Linked DNA regions of Homo sapiens: region 2 is linked to region 1. The links are contacts of gene promoters, found by promoter capture Hi-C in human tissues and cell types (Jung and others, 2019). All regions are on one chromosome and are shown on one strand. Each heading gives the region's core, a stretch centred on a gene start or on the middle of the fragment in contact. The rest is flanking DNA. Distances are from core to core; before and after follow the strand shown.

What was found. Contacts are between HindIII fragments. The study calls those that stand out against the background at their distance.
Region 2: a fragment that was not itself captured here is called in contact with the fragment with the promoter of SMAD7 in region 1 in 1 of the 25 tissues and cell types used here (lymphoblastoid cells).

The regions. Positions count from the first base shown.
Region 1 is chr18:48,947,420-48,953,566 of GRCh38, reverse strand. It overlaps SMAD7 (SMAD family member 7), which reads left to right and starts at 2,602. Exons shown (of 4, transcript NM_005904.4): 1 at 2,602-3,755; 2 at 5,130-5,183. The coding sequence starts at 3,143. RefSeq lists silencers at 519-858, 1,429-2,128, 3,345-3,664, 4,705-4,904 and an enhancer at 4,771-5,272. The HindIII fragment of the contact is 10,376 bases long and covers 1-3,824 here.
Region 2 is chr18:49,388,069-49,394,215 of GRCh38, reverse strand. DYM (dymeclin) reads left to right here. Exons shown (of 18, transcript NM_001353214.3): 3 at 2,571-2,623. Among named protein-coding and RNA genes, the nearest start is that of DYM, 70 kb to the left of the region's middle. The HindIII fragment of the contact is 3,584 bases long and covers 512-4,095 here.

The DNA of each region.
Region 1 (6,147 bases), core at 1,353-3,852:
GTCACTACCAAAAAATACAAAAATTAGCCAGATGTGGTGGCGCGCGCCTGTAGTCCCAGCTACTCCGGAGGCTGAGGTGGGAGAATCGTTTGATCTGGGGAGGCAGAGGCTGCAGTGAGCCGAAATCGAGCCACTGGACTCTAGCCCGGGTGAAGAGTGAGACTCTAAAAAAAAAAAAAAAAAGAAAGAAAGAAAGAAAAAAAGATTCTTTAAAGCCCCCAACGAGTTTCACTGCTGGCCTGATCTCACAATTCTCAATGGCTTTTTAAAAAAATCGTATTTCACTGAATATGAAGTGAGGTTAGATCACCATGCCAACTAGTGGCCTCATCAATACTGATGTGTGTGTATTTAAATCATTACGTTTCTCGGAGCCATCAGCTTTCACGCTGTAAATGCGTTTATGCCCTAGCAATGCCATGCCCGTTTCTATGCAGTAACCCGCCAGCTTGGGTATATGTTTCTTCGGGACCTGGGGTCAAGGAATAAACTCTCTGACTCTAAGCACCTTGAAAGCTACGAGGCCCAGAAACAGGGCCTGCATGCAAATGAATGCCCTAGGCAGGTCTGCTCGCTGGGTAACCTTCCCGCGCCGGGAGGCAGGGTGGCGGGTGGCGGAGGTCTTCCGGGCCCGGGAGGAAACCTGCCCGCGGCGCGCAGGCGAGCCCCCACCCCCGCTCCCCTTCTCCCGCCGGGATGCTGCCCCTCACAGCTCGTCAGCCGGCCAAATGCATTCCAGAGCTGTGCACAAGACACACTTCTCCAGGCAGTCCTAGAAACCGGAGCCCGGAGCTGAGAGGGCGGGAGGGAGCGCGCGGCCGCCGCTGAGGTCATATTCACGCCGCCTCCCCGCCCTCGGCGGCTGTTCCCCTCAGCGCACACTTCCCAGGGCCTCGGTCCAGTCCGGTATAAATGTCTTTTAAACCGAGACAGCGCTCTCCTCCCCTTGCCCTCGGGCGCGGCCAAGGGATCCACCGCCAGGGCCTTTAAAACAAAACCAATGAATGAAGCGCTAGGGCGAGCGCGCGCGAGATGGCCACCGCGAAACCCAGCCGGGTCGAAATCGGGCCACCGACCCGCTCGCTCAGCTCCAAAACTCGCGGCGAAGCCCGCTCGGTGCTCCCTGCTTTTCCAATTTCTCCATGGCTCCGGCCGGGGCTCAATCCATTCTGGGAGCTTCTCTGCCCCCCACCTATCTCTCTCCCCTCCATCGGTACCCCCTCTACAGACCCGGGAGGGGGTGGCGGTGGCGGGGGGTTGGGGGGAGAAATAGCTTTTAGAAACCCGATCTGTTGTTTGCGAAACACAATCGCTTTTTTTTTTTTTTTAAAGCGACAGGGTGTCTAGACGGCCACGTGACGAGGCCGGAGCCGGGCGCGCCACTGCGCAGTGGAACCAGCCGAGCAGAGGGCCGGAGGGGGGGTGCGGGGGGGCGGGGAGGAGGCGGCGCGGCTGCGGCGGCTGGGGGCGGGGGAGGGAAGGGGGAGGAAGGGGGAGGGAAGGGGGCGGGGGCGGGAGGCCTTGCGGGAGGCGGTGAGCCCCGGGCACACTCGCTTGCTGCTCGGCGCACGGAAGATCCTGTCCCCGAGCCGCGCCAGCCGAGCCAGCCGGGCGCCGTGCTCGGTCCGCTCGCCGCGCGGGAGAGAGCTGCCCGAGACAGAGCCAGTCCGTCGGCGCCGAGCCGCCGAGCGCCCGGCCCCTGAGCCCCTGAGTGCGGCGCGGCGAGCCCCTGGCGGCGGCAGAAGGACCGGAGCGCCAGGAGAGGGCGGACCGGGGACAAGGAGGCTCCCGGGCGCGACGAGGAGAGTCTCGGAGGAGGAGGCGCCGAGAGGACACCGGGGCCTCCTGCCGCCGCAGCTGGGTCGAGGCGAGCAGCCCATGCGGGGAGCCTCGGCGGCCAGCCGCGGCCAGGGGAAGGGACATCGGCGGCCCCTGCACTAGCAAGCAGCTTGTGCCCGGGGGGGGCGAGAACGCGCGACCCGTCTGGGGCCCTCCGCCGCCGCCGCGCCACCCTCCCCCGCGCTGTCAGCCCCGCCGGGCTCAGCCGCCGCCGCAGCATCTTCTGCCCCTGCGCCCGCGCCAGCCTCGAGGAAGTCCCCGCCGAGGACCTGGGCCCCCAGGAGCGCAGGGGGAAAGACCAGAGACTCCCCTAAACCACCCAGATGCGCAGGATTGAAGCGGTCTAGCCAAAGCTTTCTGTGGATTAAAAAAATACACGATTTTTTTTTTTTTTTTTGGCAGAAGAAAAGGAGAGGAAGACCAGCGGGGCTTTGCAAGGAAACGGGGGGATGTAACTCGTGGATACATTTTTCCACCCATCAAACATCTTGTTATACTTTGTAAACATTTTCTTTTTTTAAACCCCAGTTCCAGCCGGACGCCCCCAGACCTCTGAGGTTCGAGGAGGTGGTGGTTTTCATTTGGGGCTTTGCATATTTGGTTGTTAGGTTTTGCGAGAGCCTTCTTATTTTGCCAGACGTCTCATGCGGGGTGAAGTCCACTCGGCCCCCTCCCCTGAGTCTTCGTGTGCGCGGAATTCGAGGAGATCCGGTTACTAAGGATATAGAGGAAAAAAATAAATCGCTTGCTTTTTTTTTTTTAATTGCCTGCTTCTCCCCACCCCCAAATTAAGTTGCTTAGCAAGGGGGAAAGAGGCTTTTTCCTTCTTCCAACAGCCCAGCCGAACGCCTTTCGTTTTTTGCCCCCGCGGACCTTCCATGTAGGAAGCCGAGGCTGGCGAGCCCGACATTCGGGAGCCACTGCGGGGGGGCCTCTTTTTGGGGAGGCGCCGACGGGGGCAGGCTCGGCCGTCCCCAGGGAAGCGGCGGCCGGGTTCCTCCGGGGCGCGCCGGGGCCGGAGAGCCGCGCAGGGCGCGGGCCGCGCGGGGTGGGGCAGCCGGAGCGCAGGCCCCCGATCCCCGGCGGGCGCCCCCGGGCCCCCGCGCGCGCCCCGGCCTCCGGGAGACTGGCGCATGCCACGGAGCGCCCCTCGGGCCGCCGCCGCTCCTGCCCGGGCCCCTGCTGCTGCTGCTGTCGCCTGCGCCTGCTGCCCCAACTCGGCGCCCGACTTCTTCATGGTGTGCGGAGGTCATGTTCGCTCCTTAGCAGGCAAACGACTTTTCTCCTCGCCTCCTCGCCCCGCATGTTCAGGACCAAACGATCTGCGCTCGTCCGGCGTCTCTGGAGGAGCCGTGCGCCCGGCGGCGAGGACGAGGAGGAGGGCGCAGGGGGAGGTGGAGGAGGAGGCGAGCTGCGGGGAGAAGGGGCGACGGACAGCCGAGCGCATGGGGCCGGTGGCGGCGGCCCGGGCAGGGCTGGATGCTGCCTGGGCAAGGCGGTGCGAGGTGCCAAAGGTCACCACCATCCCCACCCGCCAGCCGCGGGCGCCGGCGCGGCCGGGGGCGCCGAGGCGGATCTGAAGGCGCTCACGCACTCGGTGCTCAAGAAACTGAAGGAGCGGCAGCTGGAGCTGCTGCTCCAGGCCGTGGAGTCCCGCGGCGGGACGCGCACCGCGTGCCTCCTGCTGCCCGGCCGCCTGGACTGCAGGCTGGGCCCGGGGGCGCCCGCCGGCGCGCAGCCTGCGCAGCCGCCCTCGTCCTACTCGCTCCCCCTCCTGCTGTGCAAAGTGTTCAGGTGGCCGGATCTCAGGCATTCCTCGGAAGTCAAGAGGCTGTGTTGCTGTGAATCTTACGGGAAGATCAACCCCGAGCTGGTGTGCTGCAACCCCCATCACCTTAGCCGACTCTGCGAACTAGGTGAGAAGTTGTCCCCCTACCCCCAACATTTTCCGGAGCGCCAGTGCTGGAAGAAAAGCCCCTAGGGCAGTGCGTTTGTGCAGCCATCCCTCCAGGGGGAGTGTGCATACCCTCCTGGGAGAGTGTGCATACCCTCCTGGGAGAGTGTGCATACCCTCCTGGGAAGAGACTGGGGGCTGAAAGTAGAGAAGGGACAAGGGGAAACTCAAAGGGCATTCCCTGGGGGTTCCCTTCCAGGTTTTCTCCTGTGTTGCCCCGAAGGGGTCTACGGGCACTGCTCCTGCAGTCTGCGGTTAAAAATTAGACGCCTTCATTTCCGGATCAACAAGGGGGTGCAGAGGGAGGTGGGGGGGTCACGCCTCCCCGCACCCGGAAAGACGTTGAGGTGTGTGGCCGAGTTGGATTTGGTCCAGGCCCGCCAAGGAAGGCTGGGAGAGGCGTGCTATAAAGGCTGGAAGGTCTCCGTATTTACTCCTTTAGTAAATACGGAGAATCACGTCGAACACCAGTGGCCCAGATACTGTCGTGGCCGCGCACCTTTGGAGTTTTGGGGCAAAGAGAGTTGGATGGAAGGCCGAACTGGGTATCTGTCTCCTTTCAACTCTGCCAGCCCCAGGGTGCAGAGGAACAAACAGGCAGGAGAAGTTGGGTGTCCCCTACTTTTTCCTTCCTTCCGCACAGATAAGTCTGTAGATTAGTGGGGCCCCGGCGCCTCAGTGACGTTGTCGCCTCTTACTGCGCTGGGGCCTGGGCTTCTCGGCTGAGACCCTGAAACTCCTTTCCTTTTATCCTCTCAGCTTTCTCCATTCCTTCCTTTACTCTACGTCTCTGTACACAGAGTGTGATGTGAGGGTTCACCCCGGGCGCCCGCAGATCCCCCACGTTCCCCAGCACGCTTGGGATGCATCTCCCGAGTGCGCTAGGAATGGGCAGCCCCGTGTCCCCCGCGCGAGTGCCGAGCGGACCGGCGGGGGCAGAGGTGAATTGCACGCCTGGGGGGCGGGCCGGGGCGGGGAGCCGAGGTTGCTGGGAGCTGGGTCTGGAGTCCGAGGACGGGGAGGGGGCATGGTCGCCCCCCGCCCTGTGAACTGTGAAGTGCGCGGCTCCGGCCGAGCCGGTGGTTTCCAGCCGGGCCAGCCGAGCGCGGCGGCTGCGGCCGCAGACGTGGAGGAGCGGAGCGCCGAGGCTGGCGCCAGGCGGCCTCTTTTGTTTATCTGACAGCTAAATATCAAGGCAATCACCGCCTCGCGGCCCTGCCTCCAACCCCCACAGCTAAGACAAACAGTTGGGCTAAAAGAATGCCTCTGTTATCATAAGTTTCTATCTCTCTTCTCATGGCTGGGCCTTTATTTTCTCTTGCTTTTTTAATTTCAGAGTCTCCCCCCCCTCCTTACTCCAGATACCCGATGGATTTTCTCAAACCAACTGGTGAGTAGATGATTTTTAAAATATCCTGCTTATCTTAAGTTAGAAATAGAGCCTCTAGAACGTGGCTTTTTGTGTGTAGGCAAAGGCTTGGGGAGGTGCTGGGCTTCACGTTGGTTCTAGGTTTCCTCTGTTGGAAGTTTGGTGAATTTTTCTGTTGTGGCTGGGTTTTTTGCTGTTTTTGCAAAGACGTTCCCTTGATATGCTTTACATTTTGTTCCTTTTTCATGTATTTGTGCTGTGTAGCCGGTGGGCTCAGCTTTAACACGTGGAAGCTTTAGTCCAGAGAGAAGTGTCTTGGGAACCAAATAGGACTGGTTGATGGGGATAACTCGGAGACTTAGTGAGTGCCAGGAGCATCAGTGGGAATAATGGAAAGGGTGATTCGATAGATGGGAAGACGGTTTAAAAAGGTGCAAAGAAGACTTTGGTCTGGAGTAGACACTAGAACTTTTCAGAAGTATAGGCAACAGCCAGTAAAAGGGGGGGGGGGGTAGGTTCCTCCTGCTCCAGTCACCTGCAAGTCAGTCCTCTCCCGGGGTTTTCTCAGTATTCGCCATAGGGACTATCAAAGTTTGAAGCATAGCTCTGCCTGTCTGCTGCTTTGTCACTGGCTGGCATGAAGCCATGGCAGAAGCCCATTTGAGACTGGCACCAGCCCTGTTGTGGTTGTCTGCATTCAACTTCTGGCCGGCAGCAGCACAGGGGTCCATCCTCTGGACATCACAGTGCTGGGGACAGGGTCAGCAAAATGAACTTGGGGGTGACAACAAGGACAAACCCAAATTCCTGGAGCTCCCTCTTACAGTAGGAGATAGATCTGTTTGCTAAAAGTACAGGTTGTATGTAACCTTGGTTTTTGTGCCTGTATACTGGTGCCTGAAAAAAACATTAATACTTGGGACATTTTTATTTTGCCAAGGTTCTGGGAGAAGGAAAAGTGAAGGGTTGGGCACCATTTAGCTCC
Region 2 (6,147 bases), core at 1,054-3,553, 440 kb before region 1:
CCAAGCTCAACTATCTAGTAAGTAGTTGAACTGGAGTTGAAATGCACTTAAAAAAATTGTGGTGAAATATACACAATGTAAAATAATCATTTTAACCATTTTAAAGTATATAGTTCTGTGGCATTAAGTATATTCACATTATCATGCAATCATTAACACCATCCATCTCTAAAACTTTTTAATCTTGGCAAACTGAAACTCTATACTGACTAAACACTAGTTCCCTATTCTCCCATCCCCAGCCCCTGGCAATCACCTTTTTACTTTTTCTCTTTGAGTTTAACTCCTCTAGGAGCCTCATATAAGAGGAATCATACAATATTTATCTTTTTGTGGCTGGCTTATTTCACTTAGCATAATGTCTTCAGGGTTCATTCATGTTGTAGCATATATTGAAATTCCCTATTTTATTTTTATTTATTTATTTTTATTATTATTTTCTTTTGAGATGAAGTTTCTCTCTTGTTGCTTAGGCTGGAGTGCAATGGTGCCATCTCAGCTCACCGCAATCTCTGCCTCCTGCATTCAAGTGATTCTCCTGCCTCAGCCTCCCGAGTAGCTGAAATTACAGGCATGCACCACCACACCCGGCTAATTTTGTATTTTTAGTAGAGATGGGGTTTCTCCATGTTGGTCAGGCTGGTCTTGAACTCCCGACTTCAGGTGATCTGCCCGCCTTGGCCTCCCAAAGTGCTGGGATTACAGGCATGAGCCACCGCGCCTGTCAAAATTCCCTATTTCTTAAGACTAAATAATATTCCATTGTGTGTATGTACATTTCATTTATCCATCTATCTGTTGGTACACATGTGGGTTACTTCTACCTCTTGGCTACTGTTAGTGGAGCTGCCATGGACACGAGTGTACAACTATCTCTTCAAGACCCTGCTTTCACTTCTTTTGGGTATCTACCCGGATGGTAATTTTATGTTTAATTTTTTGAGGAACTGCCATATTTTTGCCATAGTGGCTGCATCATTTTACATACCATCAGTGCACAAGGGTCCTAATTTCTCTGCATCCTTGCTAACACTTGTTACTTTCTTTTTTCCTTCCTTCCTTCCTTCCTTCCTTCCTTCCTTCCTTCCTTCCTTCCTTCCTTCCTTCCTTCCTTCCTTCCTTCCCTCCCTCCCTTCTTTCCTCCTCCTCCTCCTCCCCTCCTCCCCTCCTCCTCCTCCTCCTCCTCCTTCTTCCTCTTCTTCTTCTTCTTTTTTTTTTTTTGAGATGGAGTCTGACTCTGTCTCCCAGGTTGGAGTGCAGTGGCACGATCTTGGCTCACTGTAACCTCTGCCTCCTGGGTTCAAGCAATTCTCCTGCTGCATCCTCCCAAGTAGCTGGGATCACAGGCGTGTACCACCATGCCTGGCTAATTTTTGTATTTTTAGTAGAGATGGGTTTCACCATATTGGCCAGGCTGGTCTTGAACTCCTGACCTCAAGTTATCTGCCCTCCTCAGCCTCCCAAAGTGCTGGGATTACAGGTGTGAGCCCACCTCGCCTGGCCTCTTTTTTTTTTTTTTTTTTTTTTTTTTTTTAAATAAAAGCCATCCCAATGGGTGTGGAGTAGTATCTCGCTCTGGTTTTAGTGTTTCACTAATGACTAGTGATGTTGAGCATGTTTTCATGTACTTATTGGCCATTTCTATATCCTCTTTGGAAAATGGCTATTTAAGTCGTTGGTCCATTTTAAAATTGGGTTGTTTGGTTTTTGTTGTTGTTGAGTTGTAGGAGTTTTAAAAGTATATTCTGGATATCAATCTCTTATCAGATATGTGATTTACAAGTACTGTTTTCCATTCTGTGGGTTGACTTTTCACTCTGTAGATAGTATCCTTTGATCCACAGAAGTTTTTAATTTTGGTAAAGTCCAGCATGTCTGTTTTTTTCTGTTGATACCTGTGCTTTTTGGTGTCACATCCAAGAAATTGTTGTCAAATGCAATCTCAAGAAACATATTTTCTTCTAAGCTTTATTTCTGTCTCTGTCTATCTGTGCCTCTTTTCTCTGTGTCATCTTGAGTCTGTCTCTGTATCTGTTTCTGTATGTTTGTATCTTTGTATCTTTTTTCTATATATTTATAAACCACCAAAACATATATGTATCGTCTCTCTTTTCTTGCTTTATTTCTTCCTTTTCCTTTTTTTCTAGAACTTTTTGAAAGTATTGTAGCAATCATGACACTCCATGTATTTCCTAAAAATAATAGCATATTTCTAAACTATAATTAGTACTGCCTTTAGAATTGGGCACACAGGGCCCTTGCCTTGAGCTCTCTACTTTGGAGTGCCTTTCTTGAATTTTTCTAAGTCTCCCTGCTGCCTTAATGCCTGAAAGGCAGGGTGCCCCAAGCTCTTCTCTTTAGGAGTCTCATATTTAGAAATACAGTAAATTTCCTAATTATATTGAAAATTGAAGCCTAACTTTTTTTTTTGCTGATCTTATTGTTCACTACTGTGCACCATATTTTTCTTCTAAATTATTTTTCTTATCTTTATATATTTCTTTAACTGATTAGCATGTACATATTTAGTATTATAGTCATTAATTACCTTTATTCTTCTGTCTCTCCAGTAGTGAGTTGAAACTCTTGGAGGAAGCAACCATTTCAGTCTGCAGGTCATTAGGTAAGTGGGAAAAATGTGTGTGGGGTGTTGTTTTCAAATTTTGTTTTAGATTTTGATAGTATAATATGAACTGAATTAATGAAGTAATTACTCTTCTTTGATAGCAATAGTAATAATTTTTTCTATTTGTGGCATTCACAGATGCTGCTAGAAGGTACCCTTCAGTCAATAGCAATATGACACATGCTTGGCTATATCTGCAGTAGTGGTAATGGACTCTGCTAAGCCATAGACACTCTTTCGTCTTGTTCTTTTTGTGAATTTTGAAATACTGAAAATAATGTGATTTACCAAGTGCTGTTATTGACTATGTTCACCAGAACAATATTAAAATCTATTAAGAATGTATATTAGGAAGTTTCCATAACAACTTGATATTATGGCAAAGAGCATGGAATCCAGAATCATTTTATGATTTTAATTTCAGCTGTGCTACCTATTAGCTGAGCCTTAATTTCCTCATATAGATTGAGGATAAGGACAACTATTTACAGGATTCTTATAAGGAAAAATTAGGTAATATGAAATATTCAGTACAATGTGTGTCATGTAGTCATTGCAAACCATTTATGTCAGCAAATGTTACCCTTTTCAGGTCTTGTTTCTCAAATGCTTAACTTTCAAGTTCATAGCAATTGGAAGGAAATTGTATATATTTTTAAAATGCAGGCAGTTTTACTTAGATTGCATTGGTGCTTTGAAAAGTAAGACAATGTGTCTGTGAAATACCTAGGGTACAGGAATGTAATAAGTGAGAACAATATTCTGTTTTAAAATCAGGCTGTCTAGGCCGGACACAGTGGCTCACGCCTATAATCCCAGCATTTTGAGAGGCTGATGCGAGTGGATCACGAAGTCAGGAGTTCAAGACCAGCTTGGCCAAGATGGTGAAACCCCGTCACTACTAAAAATCCAAAAATTAGCAAGGCATGGTGGTGGGCGCCTGTAATCCCAGCTACTTGGGAGGCTGAGGCAGAGAATTGCTTGAACCCGGGAGGCAGAGGTTGCAGTGAGCCGAGATCGCGCCACTGCACTCCAGCCTGGGCGACAGAGCGAGACTCTGTCTCAAAAAACATTAAAAAAAAAAATCGAGCTGTATGGATAACTCCCATATAAACTATTTTGCTAAAAACAGTTTTTGATGATTTATTTTTTTTTTTAAAGAGATAGAGTCTTGCTTTGCTGCCCAGGCTGGAGTGCACTGGTGCCATTGTGGCTCACTGCAGCCTTGATCTCCTGGGCTTCAGTGATCCTTCCACCTCAGCCTCCTCAGAAGCTGGGGCTATAGGTGCATGGCACCACACCTGCCTAATGATTTTATTTTATTTTTGTATAGATGGGGGTCTCCTGTGTTGCCGAGGCTAGTCTCAGGCTCCTGGCCGCAAGCCTTCCTCCTCCTACCTTGGACCCCCAAAGTGTTGGGATATTACAGGTGTTAGCCACCGTGCCTGGGCCCAAATATTTTTGTTTTTAAAAACAAACTATGTTGATAATGAAAAGGTGTTATTGTAGTAGTTGTCTTGCCTTACAACCATAGCTTAGGGAATTTTTTGCTAAATAGAGCTGGCTTTCAAAAGCCATGTCGCAATTCAGTGCTGAAAATTAAGGAGTTTTATGTAACAATATTAGTGTAGTTACTGTGATAATGGCTTTTAAGGTGACTTTGGGTTTTTAAAAAAATTATAAAATTAAAAGATGAAAAAACAAAAATATAACAAAGCAATGAGAAAACAAAGAAAAAATTACATTAAGAAAACTGAAAGTAGCTGGGAGTGGTGGCTCATGCCTGTAATACTGGTAACTTTAGGAGGCTGAGGCAGGAGGGTTGCTTGAGGTCAGAGTTCAAGACCAGCTTGGGCAACATAATAAGACCCCATCTCTTACAAAATCTACATCTTACCCATCTACACGCAAAAAAATTGAAAAAACTTAACCAGGCATGGTGGCATGTGCCTGTAGTCTCAGCTGCTTGCGAGATTGAGGTAGGAGGATTGATCGAGCCCAGGAATTTGAGGCTGCAGGGAACCATGATGGCGCCACTGGACTCCAGTCTGGACAATACAGCAAGACTCCAAATCTAGGGGCGAAAAAAAGCAAGTAATATTTACTCATTATACATAATGTGGAAAGCATACTAAAATGTAAATGAGGTAGTAATTGCTCATAATTTGAAAACCCTGACATAGGCATTGTTGATATTTTTGTATTTTTTCTTCTACTACTTATTCAATAGATATAAATTTATATATATATCATCCACCACACACACACACACACAGACACACACACACATTTTAATCTGTGTTTTTCACTTGACATTGTATCAGGAATGTGTTACATGTTTAAAAATACTTTTGGGAACAGCAAAACAAGATATACATTTATTGCCCCAAATTCCAGTAATGTGATGGTATGGCTAAAATAAAAATCATCTCATATTAAACAGTACATGTGTAATCACTGCTAATCTTTTGTGACAATTTCATATAAATGGTATTATTTATATTTTGTTTACACGCAGCAACATGTCAGGAACCTCTTCACATCAATAAGTATAAGTGCATATCAACTTTAAGGGCTATGTGAGTGTACTTAGTTTCCTTTTTGAAAAAAAAATTTTTTTAAGTGCTGGTCTACTGGCAACAATTTTCCTTCTCTTTTTTCTTTTTTTTTTTTTTTGTCTGAAAATGTGCTATTTTTTTTCTTGGCTTTTGAAGCATATGTTTTGCTGGATATAGAATTTTAGATAGACGTTAATTTATTTTCCGTACTTTAAAGGTGTCATTTCGTTATTTTCTAGCTTTTCTTGTTTTTGTTGTGAAGAAAGCAGTCAACCTTATTGTTGCTTCTTTGAAAATAATGGAATTTTTAACTTCGGCTGCTTTTAAGTTTTTCTTTTTATCTTTTGATTTTCAGTAGCCTTAGAGTGATGTGCTGAGGAGAGGTTTTCTTTGTTTTTTTGTCGCCTGAGGTTTGTAGAGATTCTTAAATCTGTGAGTTGGTGTCTTTTATCAGTATTGGAAAATTCTTAGCCATTATGTGTTTATATATAAAATTTTTGTTCTATTCTGTCTCTCCTCTCCTCCTGGGACGCTTGTTACACTTCTGTTCAATGTTTTGTTTCCATTGTGTCCCATATACTTGTTAGGCCTTTTTTCTTTTGTAGTTTACATTCTTTTTCTCTCTGACCTTCAATGAGATATTTTCTGTTAATTCATCTTTAGTTTCTAATGTTTTCCTTTTTTTTATTTTTATTTTTATTTTGAGACAGGGTCTCACTCTGTTTCCCAGCTAGAGTGCAGTGGCACTATCACCGCTCACTGCAACCTCAGCTTCCTGGGCTCAAGAGGTCCTACCACTTCAGCCTCCTGAGTAGCTGGGATTACAGGCATATGTCACCATGCCTGGATAATTTTTAAGTTTTCTGTAGAGGTGGGATCTTGCCATGTTATGTTGAACTTCTGGGCTCAAGTGATCCTCCCACCTTGGCCCCCACAAAGTGCTGGGATTACAAGTGTGAGCTA